Linked DNA regions of Homo sapiens: regions 1 and 3 are each linked to region 2. The links are contacts of gene promoters, found by promoter capture Hi-C in blood cells and fetal thymus (Javierre and others, 2016). All regions are on one chromosome and are shown on one strand. The core of a region is centred on a gene start or on the middle of the fragment in contact, and the rest is flanking DNA. Distances in the headings are between cores, read along the strand shown. Region 1 overlaps ALG9 (ALG9 alpha-1,2-mannosyltransferase). Region 2 holds the start of LAYN (layilin). Region 3 overlaps ALG9 (ALG9 alpha-1,2-mannosyltransferase).

Evidence for each region. Contacts are between HindIII fragments. The CHiCAGO score rates a contact against its expected background, and 5 or more counts as called.
Region 1: a fragment that was not itself captured here is called in contact with the fragment with the promoter of LAYN in region 2 in 1 of 17 cell types (naive CD4 T cells); the score reaches 5.3 in naive CD4 T cells.
Region 3: a fragment that was not itself captured here is called in contact with the fragment with the promoter of LAYN in region 2 in 9 of 17 cell types (naive CD4 T cells, fetal thymus, naive CD8 T cells and 6 more); the score reaches 7.9 in naive CD4 T cells.

What each region holds. Positions count from the first base shown.
Region 1 is chr11:111,811,126-111,815,313 of GRCh38, forward strand. All of the region lies in intron 13 of ALG9 (ALG9 alpha-1,2-mannosyltransferase), which reads right to left. Among named protein-coding and RNA genes, the nearest start is that of PPP2R1B, 47 kb to the left of the region's middle. RefSeq lists an enhancer at 3,542-4,188. The HindIII fragment of the contact is 4,001 bases long and covers 1-3,760 here.
Region 2 is chr11:111,537,811-111,541,973 of GRCh38, forward strand. LAYN (layilin) reads left to right here and starts at 2,910. Exons shown (of 7, transcript NM_178834.5): 1 at 2,910-3,118. The coding sequence starts at 3,034. RefSeq lists an enhancer at 2,013-2,692. The HindIII fragment of the contact is 6,714 bases long and covers 2,186-4,163 here.
Region 3 is chr11:111,852,808-111,857,132 of GRCh38, forward strand. It overlaps ALG9 (ALG9 alpha-1,2-mannosyltransferase), which reads right to left. Exons shown (of 15, transcript NM_024740.2): 7 at 842-929; 8 at 573-678. Among named protein-coding and RNA genes, the nearest start is that of ALG9, 17 kb to the right of the region's middle. The HindIII fragment of the contact is 6,586 bases long and covers 1-4,325 here.

The DNA of each region.
Region 1 (4,188 bases), core at 510-3,009, 270 kb after region 2:
AATGTCATATGTTCCATAGCAATAAACAAAATGAAATTTTATAAAAATATAATTTACAAGCATTTGAAAATGTTTACCTTAGAATAAATATAATAAAAGATGAAAGTGCTCCATAAAAAAGTATAGAATCTTATTGGCTGGGCACGGTGGCTCACGCCTGTAATCCCAGCACTTTGGGAGGCCCAGGTGGACAGATCACCTGAGGTCAGGAGTTCAAGATCAGCCTGGCCAACATGGGGAAACCCCATCTCTACTAAAAATACAGAAATTAGCTGGGTGTGGTGGTACAGGCCTGTAATCCCAGCTACTTGGGAGGCTGAGGCAGGAGAATTGTTTGAACCTGGGAGGTGGAGGTTGCAGTGAGCCAAGATTACACCACTGCACTCCAGCCTGGGCAACAGAGTAAGACTCTGTCTCAAAAAAAAAAAAAAAAAAAGGATAGAATTTTATTGACAAATGCCCATCAACAGATAGATTCATGTGGTATATCCATACCATTAAAATGTGGTATATCCATACAATAGAACAGTACTCAGCCATAACAAGGAATGAAGGTCTGATACAGCCTATGCCACAGATAAACCTTAAAAATATTGCTGTGACTGAAAAAGGCCAGGCACCAAAGGCCACATATATACGATTCCATTTATATGAAATGTTCGTAATAGGCAAATCCTCCAAGACAGAAAACAGAGGTTACTATGAACTGGGGAGTGGCTGCTTAATGGATATTTAATGGGTATGGGTTTTTTTGGGGGGGAGGCATAATAAAAATCTTCTAAACTTGGATACTGGTGAGAGTTGTACATTATAAATGTACTAAAAGCCATTGAATTGTATGCTTTAAAATGATTAAAATTGTAAATTTTGTGTTGTGCATATTTTATAATTAAAAAACATTAAAATGGTGAATTTTATTTCAAATAATTTTTTTGATACACAATAAAGTAGACCTTATTAATGTAGTGATATATTTTATTCCTAGACAAAAACCTTACTATTATAAATATGTCAATTCTAAACAAATTGATTGATAAATTAAATATAATGTCAATCAAAATCCTAACAGACTTTTTTGAAACTCAACAAGCGGATTCTAAAATGTGTATGGAAAGGCAGAAAGACAAGAATAGCCAAGGCATTCTTAAAAAAGAAGAACAGGCTGGGCATGGTGGCTCACACCTGTAATCCTAGTACCTTGGGAGGCCAAAGTGGGAAGATAGCTTGAGGCCAAGAATTTGAGATAAGCCTAGGCAAGACAGTGAGACTCTGTTTCCACAAAAATTTAAAAATTAGCCGGGCATGGTGGTATGTACCAATAGTCCTAGCTACTCAGGAGATTGAGGCAGGAAAATTGCTTGAGCCCAGGAGGTCAAGACAGCAGTAAGCTATGATCATGCCACTGCATTCCAGCCTGGGTGACACAGCAAGACCTCATCACTAAAAAGAAAAACAACAACAACAAGGTGGGGGCTTAGTTACTGTAAAGCTATAGAAATTAATACAGTAGGCCATGTACAGTGGCTTACGCCTGTAATCCTAGCACTTTGGGAGGCCGAGGCAGGTGGATCGCCTGAGGTCAGGAGTTTGAGACCAGCCTGGCCAACATGGTGAAACCCCGTATCTACTAAAAATATAAAAATTAGCCAGGCATGGTGGTGGGCATCTGTAGTCCCAGCTACTCAGGAGGCTGAGGCAGGAAAATTCTTTGAACCCCGGAGGCAGTGGCTGCAGTGAGCCAAGATTGCACCACTGCACTCCAGCCTGGTGACAGAGCAAGACTCTGTCTCAAAAAAAAAAAAAAAAAAGAAATTAATACAGTGAGGAATAGATCAACAGACCAATGAAATAGAACAAAGAGCCTAGATCAGATGCAGGTACATGCAGACCCTTATTTACGACAGAAGCGACACCTCAAAGAAGCGACTGTCTTTTCACCAGCTGGTGTAGACAACTGGATATCCCTTAGGGGAAAAATGAAATTGAACTTTAACCTCACTCCACATGCAAAAATCAACTTTAGATGAATAGGCCTAAAAATGAAAAGATAAAGCTCTCGGAATATAATATAAAAGAATATCTTCAAGATCTTGGGTAAAAGAGTTTGTGGATAAAGCATTAATTATAAAAAAGAATGACGATACATTTGACTATATTAAAGTTTAGAATACCTTTTCACCAAAAGACACATTAAGGCCAGGAGCAGTGGCTCACGCCTGTAATCCCAGCACTTTTGGAGGCTGAGGTGGGAGGATCACTTGAGGCCAGGAGTTCAAGATCAGCCTGAGCAAAATAGTGAGATCCCATCTCTACAAAAAATAAAAAAATTAGCTGGGCATGGTGGTGCACACCTGTGGTCCTAACTACTTGGGAGGCTGGGGCAGGAAGACTGCTTGAGCCCAGGAGGTAGAGGTTGCAGTGAGTCAAAAAACATTAAGAATTAAAAAAACACAGAATGAGAGAAGATATATGTAATACATTTAACCATCAAGGATTCATATCTAGAATATATATAACTTCTGCTAATCAACAAGACAAAGACAAACCACCCAAAAGAAAAACGGGCAAGTGACTTAGGTACTTTATAAGAATAAACTGAAATGGCCACAACAAGTGAAAATGCGTTCAACCTCATTAGTAACCAGCAAATGCAAATGAAAACCACAATAAAAAAAATTACAGTATCAAGTGTTGGCCAGAATGTGGAACAACAATTATATATTACTAACAGGAAATTAAGTTGGTAAGAGTTCTTTAGAAAACTATTTGGCAAAATCTACTAAAATTGAACATATGTATTTCCTATGATCTAACAATTCTACCCCTAATTATTAGATTGAACCACATGAAATTATTATTTGATGTTTGAGCCACAAAAATGGTAATTCATATGGTTCAACCTAATGTATATCCAACAGAAATGCCTGCACCAAAAGAAAAGTTCAAGAATGTTCAAAGTGGTGTTATCTGTAGTAACCCAGATTGGAAACAAAAACACCCGTCAACAGTAAAATAATCAATAAATTGTGGTAAAGTCATACAATGAAATATTAATAAGAGAGAACAAACCACAGGCAATAACATGTGTGATTATTATAAACAAAATGTTGAGTGAAAAGATCAAGACACAAAAGGATAAATGCAGTGTGATTCAGGCAAAATGAACCTAAGTCATTTAGGGACACATGTAAAAGTCATAAATCTAAAGAGAAAAGCAAGAAAATCATTACCACAGGAGTCAGGAGACTCCCTCAGAACAGGGGTGTGGGTAGGTGATCAAAAGGAATTCTGGGGGAGCTCCTGGGTGCTGGCAATGTTCTATTATTTGACCTGGGTTACACAGACACTTGCTCTATTATTATTACTACTAATTTACTGTACAAATACTTTACACACATTTAGGCTTATAGATTATACATTACTAGAAGGTTTTTTAGAAGTGCATACAAAAACAAGTTGGTCATCTCTGGCTTACCGTGAACTCTGTTCTTCCCCAACCTCCACCTTACAGAAATGTTCTCATTCTCTCCCAGCATTATTTATATGTAAAAAAGACTTCAGTCTCACATCTGTCTCTACATATGGCCTATTCCTCCAGGGGAGAGAAAGCACACTGAGAATTGACGTCAGACCCAATTCCATTCCACATAACTCTCTAAAAATGATCCTTTGCATAAACACTTCAGGAAGTAGCCTTTTTGGTCTGAACACCCACTCTGTATCTCCCAAGGATTATAAGAACATGAAACAAGTTTTTAAAAGCTTTACAAGTGCCATGCCTCTGTAAGCAAACAGAACCAACAAGAGACAGAGACACTGAGGGTCTTATGCTTAGATTTCTTTTGGTTAGGGAGCCCTCAGTATGACATTTTAATACTTGACCTCAACGTGGCTTTTTCTGGCCAGGCACACTACAGGTCTGGTTATCTAGATTTGGTGTCGGGTACAAGGCCTACCAGGGATGTGGGTGGTAACTAATTAATATGCAACTGTATCAGTCAGATTAGGCTTCATTTATCATATCATCCCTAAGCAAATTCCATTTAAAGTAAAGGTCTTAGAAAGATATCAAGGCCCAATCTGAGCAACATAGTGACAGCTCGTCTCTACAAAAAAATTTTTTTTAAAAATTGGCTCAGTGTGGTGGCTCGCACTTGTAGTCCTAGCTACTTGGGAGTCTGAGGCGGG
Region 2 (4,163 bases), core at 1,660-4,159:
CAGAGGTTGCAGCTCTATTTAGGACCACCATTTCCATCACTACTGGCCTCCACTTGGAACTCTTGGACATAGCTTTCATAAGACACAGCCCCCATCCACTGTGCCAACAGAAGACTGGGTGGCCCACTGGTCAGAGCGTAATCACAAGGACACATCAGGCTGCAAGGGAGGCTGGAAATTGTCTTTAGAAAATGGGGAGGGGGCTTCTGTCTAATTAAAATTCAGGGATTCTATAGCCAAAAGAAGTGGAGAATGGATATTAGGGGACAATGACAAGGTTCTGGCACAACGCTATTTGAAGAAAAATGTTCGGAACAAAAGGAAGGTAGTCAGGCCTAGGAAAGGAAAATTTTGAAAGTTATAAATTGGCAGCCCCATCCTAGCACCAGCAAGAATAAAAGGTATCCTGTCTGGTTGATGTATCTGTCTGCCTGGCAGGTAGGTCTTCGTTGTGAAGATGGACACAGCAGGCTATCAAAGCCTAAACTATTAAATCATATAACTAATTCCTTTCATTCTGATTCCATGCTGATAAATCTTTTTTGCCCAGAGGGAGAATATGTGTTCAACAGGCCAATGCAAGCATTAGTTTACCTGACAATTCTATTTCTCAATGTGTAAATATATTAGTCTCTTAGATTGGGTTTGAGCATGTTAAACTAGGAATTGGACCCTGGACCAGGGTAATTTTACCAAGAAAAATTCTACTTTGTGGACTTTCTTGGCAACCAGCCTTCCCCTAGTGATACCTCCCTACATTGCCAAGTGTAATGGTTAGCTATTGCTGCAACAATGCTGCATAACAAAGGGGTCTAAAACAACATTTATTACTGCTCACACATCTGCAGTTTTGTGTGATCTAGTTTGGCTGACCTAGGCTTAGCCAGAGAGCTCTGCTTCAAGCTACAGCACCTAGAGCAGCTCTGTCTCTTACTGCAAGTTTGTCAATTGCCTGAGGTAGCTCTGCTCCATTTGTCATCCTCTTAGGGATACACATAGACCAGTGGGATATCTAAGGTATGTTCCTCTCAGAGAGTGGCAGAGAAGAAAAAGAAATATGAGGCCTTTCTGGTCTAAGCTCAGAACTGACTCATTCTGTTAGCCAAACAAGTCAATCACATGGTCAAACACAAAGTCAAGGTGTGGGGAAATATACTCTGCCTCTTTAGAAAGAGAAACTACAAAGTCATATGGTAAAGGATATGGGTACAGGGAGGTGTGGAGAATTGGGGCCGTTATTGTAATCTACCAGGTTTGGTTGACTGTATACCCTAACAAAATCCATCTGAACCAAGGTCCAGGGTATCAAAGCGAGAAGTCGGGACACGATTTAATTATGTAACAGCTTTTTAAAGTTGTAGCAGATGTTATAATATTAGAAATAAATCCTTTTCAATTGACATTAAGTGCCTAGATATCTGAACATTTACATATATATTTGCCTTATCAAACACTCACTAAACTCTTAAGGCAACTGTTAATGTTACCAACAGTTAAGTGAAACTTAGGCAAACGGAATTGCCAAAGGCCACACAGACATTAAATGAAGAGCAGAATCTGAAACAGACCCTCAAATGCCAACTCCAGTGCTTCTTTTCACCATAACAGTTCTCTCAAGTTGTTTTGATAACCAAGAATTTCTAAGAAGAAAGTGTGTTAGATGTGACATTGACGTATTCTAACTGGGACAGAAGGAAGGTCTATAAATGATCTTGCCATAAAGGTCAGGCCTCATCCTGCCACAACCGCTGTTAGCTGTTACGTGCCGCAGCAGAGCTCCCCCATAGTCTCAGCTGATACTGAAATTCATCCCACTCCCCTCTCACCCCCAGCCTGTATTCAGGCTGTTTGTTTAGAATTGCAGTGGCTAGAGGCCTTAGAAGCATCACTGCTTTCTTGGCTGTTTTGAAAAGCAGAAAGAGTACGTAAGAAGCAGCAAGCTGGAACCAAAATCCAGAGGTCGTGGCCCAGATGGGGCTTCTGCTATGCTTCACAGCAGCATGGTGTGGCAGAAAAGGCAGAAAGTCAGATTCACCTTCTGCTACTTAGTGCCTTAATCTTTGGACAGATGGCTCACTCTATTGCTTGACTATATTTAAAAGCATTTTGTTTACGAAACCAAAGTGAAACACACCTACTTTGGGAGTTTACAAGAGGAAGCACACATTGAGGGCTAGGTTAGGAAAGCTTTTCCTGAGATAATAGTTTCATTCTTTCCTGCGGGGCGAGGGGCCAAAGCTGAACTCCCTAACTATGACCCCCACCTCCCAACCTGTTCCCTGCAAAAAACAGAATCATTTCCTTCCAGGGATCTGGGACATCTTTTGGCTTCTGGTAGAAGCCGCTTTCCTTTCAGTCGGGAGGGCTCCAACTCAGCCAAGTTCTTTGGATGCCATCCGCGCGGTGTCCCATAACTTTCCTGGCCGGTGGGCACACTGCCTGCGTGAGTGTTTGTTCTCTGCATCGACCATTCCCTGCTCAGGCGTCGCCCTTCGTGCTGGGACTGCGGCCTGCTGAGCCCCAGGTAGGAGTCCACGCATCGCCTCTCTCTCCAGGTGCACCCGCACAGCTGGCGAACTTGGCTAAGGTCAGCGGGAGAGGAGGGGTGAGATGTGGTGCTAGTTTTAGGCACACTGTGCTCGTTATCAGATTGCCTAGGGGCCCGACTGAAGTATTCCTCCGCCCAGCGCCTCGGGCAAACGCGGGATCTCCCAGGGAAGCTCGGAGGGGGACAGGGAGCTGGTTCCCCTCTGCGACTCGCCCCTCTCTGGCTGGCCGAGTGTCTGGCGCCAACCTCGCTGGAGGAGGCTGTCGGGGGCGGGCCAGCCAGCGGGGCTGCCCTCCTCGCAGTGACGTCCCAGGGGGCGGAGGGGCGACCGACTGACTCCGCGCCCTCCCCCCCGCCTCCCGTGCGGTCCGTCGGTGGCCTAGAGATGCTGCTGCCGCGGTTGCAGTTGTCGCGCACGCCTCTGCCCGCCAGCCCGCTCCACCGCCGTAGCGCCCGAGTGTCGGGGGGCGCACCCGAGTCGGGCCATGAGGCCGGGAACCGCGCTACAGGCCGTGCTGCTGGCCGTGCTGCTGGTGGGGCTGCGGGCCGCGACGGGTCGCCTGCTGAGTGGTGAGTGCGCGCGCTGGGGCGGGGGCTGGTGCCGGGGTGGGCTCACTGCACCCCAGCTGCTGCTGACCCTCTTCTGGGTCGCCACGTATGGGACTAGAAGGCCGTCCCATGCCCCACTCCCAGACGCAGCCCTTCGGAGTCTCTTGCGTTCTGGGGGCAGTCGCACGGCGTCTGAGACCCACGCCAGTTCCCGGAGCTGCGCAGTTCCCTGCGCGTCCTGGAACGCTCGAAGCCCGTTCCCAGTCCAGAGTTATGGGGGTGGGTTGGAGAATGTAGGAGAGGTGGGGCAGTGGGCAAACCTGCCCCAGTGGGTGCCCCTTCGGCCCGCTCCTTTACACGCATCGAATCAGTCCTTGGGACCACCCCCGCGGGGCAGGCTTGCCAGCTGGCCCCCGCCTACCGCCCGCTCCGGGAGGCGGCCGCAGAGACAGCGGGGTAGGGATGCTGGATCCCCGGTGCCGTGGGAACCCTGCCTGTTACTCCTCGTCTCTTCTGCGGGGTTGGATGGCTGGGTCGAGCGCCCGGTATGAGAGCGCTTAGAGATCGGGAAAGAACTCCAGTTAGTGTGGGACGAGCCCCACCTGACTCCGGGGAATGACTCTCTGCTTCCTTCCTCCTGTTGTGTCACTGCAGCCTCGGATTTGGACCTCAGAGGAGGTAAAGTGCTCTGGCTTCTGGCTTCTTTCAGTTGTTCTGCATGTCGGGGGGAGAACATCCGTGCCCTTTTCTCAGATCCTTTTTGCGGGTGCCAACAGCTTGACCAAACGGGACAGAGGAGACTGGGAACCTCCTCTACTCTGGCATCCTGGCTTGCGAAACTAATTTAAAGAATGTAAAGTTGGTTTCAGGATGGGGGCGGGGCGGCAAAAGAGGTGGGAAGCTGAATTGAGCTGCTTGGGTTAGGGCTGCGTGGGCTCTGTCCTTGGTCGCGGGGAACAGAAGGCCCTCCCACCCTTCGCCTTCCTGCAAATGAGAAGAGAAGGACACTTCCTGAAGGCAGGAGAACCAGATAGGCCCGCGGGCCTCCTTCCAGCTCTGACGGTCT
Region 3 (4,325 bases), core at 1,076-3,575, 310 kb after region 2:
GGCTAATAGCTGTAATCCCAGCTATTCGGGAGGCTGAGGCAGGAGAATCACTTGAACCCAGGAGGTGGAGGTTGCAGGGAGCCAAGATCGCGCCACTGCACTCCAGCCTGGGCAACAAGAGTCTAACTCCACCTCAAAAAAAAAAAAAAAAATGTCTGGGGTATACTCCCAGGTGTTAGTAATAGTTATATGGAGATGATAGTATTATGCTTTCATTTCCTTCTCCTATCATACTGATTTTTTAATAAGAAGAGAAAAAAGTAACTTTTAATTAAAAAAAAAAAAAGCATCAAAAGCCATAGCATACCCAGAGTCCTCAAAACTCTGAAAGTGAAAATAACAAACAGGAAAAATAGAGAGCCAGTATTGGAATATCACATTAATCAAGGAGAAATATTTGAGTGGCTACGTGTCATCATTGTGCTATACTCAGATGTCATTTTTAAATAGGAAAAGATAATATCAGCCAAGAAATGCTACATCTAATAATACGAGGCAACTGAATTAAAATGCTGAAGTTCAGGCAAATTAAGCTATCTCCTAACACTTGCCCAAATTTCACAAAGCCTTACCATAAAGATCAGGTCCATGAGGAGTAAAGACATTATACAAAACAATGTTGAGTGGTGCAATCACCAACTTCCCATAATAGTAGCTGTCAATGACCACCACAGGCACCTAAAACAGAGCAGAAAATAGTTTTGATCTAGAAACATTCTCAAAATGCTAATAGGATAAACCTGAGAATGAAAAACAGAATAAACTCCTGATGTTCCTTTTTTCACATCAAAGTTGCTTTCATTACAACTTTAGGACAAAGCAAGTAAAAAAGAAAACTCACCAGAAATAGTATGAGGGCCATCAGCGACCAATGAAAGAAACTCTTCCACCTGTGTTTCATGACCAGCAAATCAAAGGCAATGGGTAAACTATTTAACAGAGAAACAGAGCGGGGAGTTAAATAAATACTGACAGAGACAAATCAGATTCACACATACCTCATGCTGAACTGAGAATAAAATGCCTCTGCCAGTTATAGTGAGGGAAGAAACCTGGTATGTGAGAGGATGTCGTCACAGGACCTGTCAGAGTGCTCTGTATCCCACTGATGCACAAGAAATAGAATTACTGAGCTGCTGGAATGAATTCCATTTTATACACATTTATGGGTAACAGAAATTTAAAATATATGTGCCCTACTGTCTTACACCCACCCTGCCAAATAAATAAGTACTAACCTCACCCTTCCATGATTTACTAGGATTTTAGTAATAACCTTATTACAGACTTTTTTTTTTTTTTTTTTTTGAGACAGGGTCTCACTCTATTGCCCAGGCTGGAGTGCAGTGGCGCAATCTCGGCTCACTACCGCCTCCATCTCCTAGGTTCCAGCATTCTCCTGCCTCAGGCTCCCGAGTAGCTGGGACTACAGGCACAGGCCATCAGCCCTGGCTAATTTTTTTTTTTTTTTTTTTTTTTTGAGACAGAGTCTCACTCTGTCGCCCAGGCTGGGTGCAGTGGTGTGATCTCAGCTCACTGCAACTGCCGCCTCCTGGGTTCAAGCAATTCTCCTGCCTAAGCCTCCCAAGTAACTGGGACTACAGGTGTGCACCACCACACCCCGCTAATTGTTTTGTATTTTTAGTAGAGACAGGGTTTCACCATGTTGGCCAGGCTGGTCTCAAACTCCTGACCTCAGGAGATCTGCCTGCATCGCCCTCCCAAAGTGCTGGAATTACAGGCATGAGCCACCACGCCTGGCCCCATCTTTGAATTTATATGGCATCATCATCTCTATCATTGATTTAGCAATGTCATGTGCTGTCACAGTACCTCTTCTGTGATTTGAACCTCCATGTTGTTATGTAAATTCCGTATAACATTTTGCGTTTTTATTTTTTGTCACCCCAACTACTTCCATTTCCATAGCACCTGTATTTCTCCTTTGATAAGTCATACTTTTAATTACTTGTCCAATATCTGTCTTTCCTACTAAAATGTTAAGTTCCAAAAGGGCAGGAACCATGACTGTCTAATTTCTAAAATATCAGCAGTATCTAGCACAAAGCATTCAATGAATGACAGTATACTGATTGCTAACTGACTAATTGTGATCCTGAAATCACTTATCTTGGTAAAGGCAGACTCATCGAAATGTGGCACCCAAGAGGTATTTGAGGAACTCAGTGAAATTCAATGTAGATGAAATAGTGAATGAAAGGAATGGAAGAACTGACAAAAAGAAGCTGGAAAAGTAAAAGGAAGACCATGCAGGGCTTTCTGTGTTATCTTTGAGTTTGGATACCACAGGGCAGGGGTTGGCAAACTTTTTATTTAAAGGATCTGACGGTATATATTTTAGGGTCTGCAGGCCACATATGTTCTCTGTTGCATAGTCTTCTCCCTCTGTGTATGTTTGTTGTTTTTTAAAAACCCTTTAAAAACGTAAAAACTATTTAGTTGTTGGGCTATACAAAAACAGGTCAGTCGGCCAACCTCCATGACATAAAGCAATGGAGAAGCTGCCATAGAGTTTAAAACAGGGAAGTGATACAACCACATCTGCATTTGAGGAATATAACTCTAGTGGAGTTTGGAGAGCTGATTTACAGGGGTCAAGACTAGAGAGGAGGAGATCATTTAGGAGGCCGTGTAGTGATCCAGGAACAAGGGGGAGTGAAGACAAGTAATCAGATTCAAAAGATATTCAGGAGATACAACCAATTAACACTGATGGGAAAGAGAGAAGAGTCACAGACAATTTTCAGGTTTCTGGGTCAGTATTGAGGAGACAGCAGTACTATTTACTGGAATAGAAACACAAGTAAAGGAACAGCTATGGAGAGAAGATAATGAATTCAGCAGCTATCTACTAAGCAGCTGGGAATATATGAATGAAGCTCAAGAGAGATAACTGGACTAGACATTAAGCTATGGGAATCACCAAGATGGCTGAGAGATAGCAGAAAGTACAGAAGAGGACCTAAGATACAATCCTGAGGAACATGAAAATCTGAGAATGTGCAAAATAGAATAGAAGAAAGGAATGGAGATGAGGAAACCAGCCTTTAAAAGGCACTTAAGAAATTTTAAAATGGACTATTCTCTTAGTAACTCCCCTCATAAAAATTTACCCCATAGGTAAATTCCCACAAGTGCACAAAGATATCTGTATAATAATGTTCACTGGGCCGGACACGATGGCTCACACCTGTAAACCCAACACTTTGGGAGGCCGAGACAGGTGGATCACGAGGTCAGGAGTTCGAGACCAGCCTGGCCAATATGGTAAAACCTCGTCTCTATTAAAAATACAAAAATTAGCTGGGCGTGGTGGCATGTGCCTGTAAACCCAGCTACTTGGGAGGCTGAGGCAGGAGAATTGCTTGAACCCGGGAGACAGAGGTTGCAGTGAGCCAAGATCGTGCCACTGCACTCCAGCCTGGGTGACAGAGCAAGACTCCATCTCAAAAAAAAAAAAAAAAAAAAGAAAAAAAAATTGTTCACTGAAGCATTGGTTATAACAGTAAAAAAATGAAAACCAAATGTCTACCAATAAGGCAATAAGTAAATCATGGAATGTTATGCAACCAATATAAACAATTATATAAATTTAATATGTAGAATACCTATATATATACAGAATAATTCCATTTGTTTTAAGAATGTAGATAGGTATGTATACAAATATTTATACACACAGCATAATTTTTCTGGAAAGACATATACCAAACTATTAGCAGTGACTATCTTTGAGGATTGAGCTAGCGGAGAAGAAAATTAGGAATTGTTTTTACCTTATACAATCTGGTACTTACTTTTTTTTTTTTTTTTTACAATAAAGATATAATCCTTCTAAAATAACCTTAGCATCAGATTAAAATATTTTCCTAAATTACCTGTGGTACAGGTAAGAAATTAAGGTACCACACACTAGAACAGAAGTAGTGGGAACAAAGAGTATACAAGGAGCTTGGTGGAAAAAAAGATGCTGGGGGCAAGAAAGAAGGAAGACTGGGCCAGGCGCAGTGGCTCATGCCTGTAATCCCAGCACTTTGTGAGGCCAAGGTGAGCGGATCACCTGAGGTCGGGAGTTCAAGACCAGCCTGACCAACATGGAGAAACCCTGTCTCTACTAAAAAATACAAAATTAGCCAGGTGTGGTGGCGCACGCCTGTAGCCCCAGCTACTTGGGGGGCTGAGGCAGGAGAATCACTTGAACCCAGGAGGCGGAGGTTGTGATAAGCCAACATCGTGCCATTGCACTCCAGCCTGGGCAACAAGAGTGAAACTCCGTCTCAAAATAAATAAATAAATAAAAATAA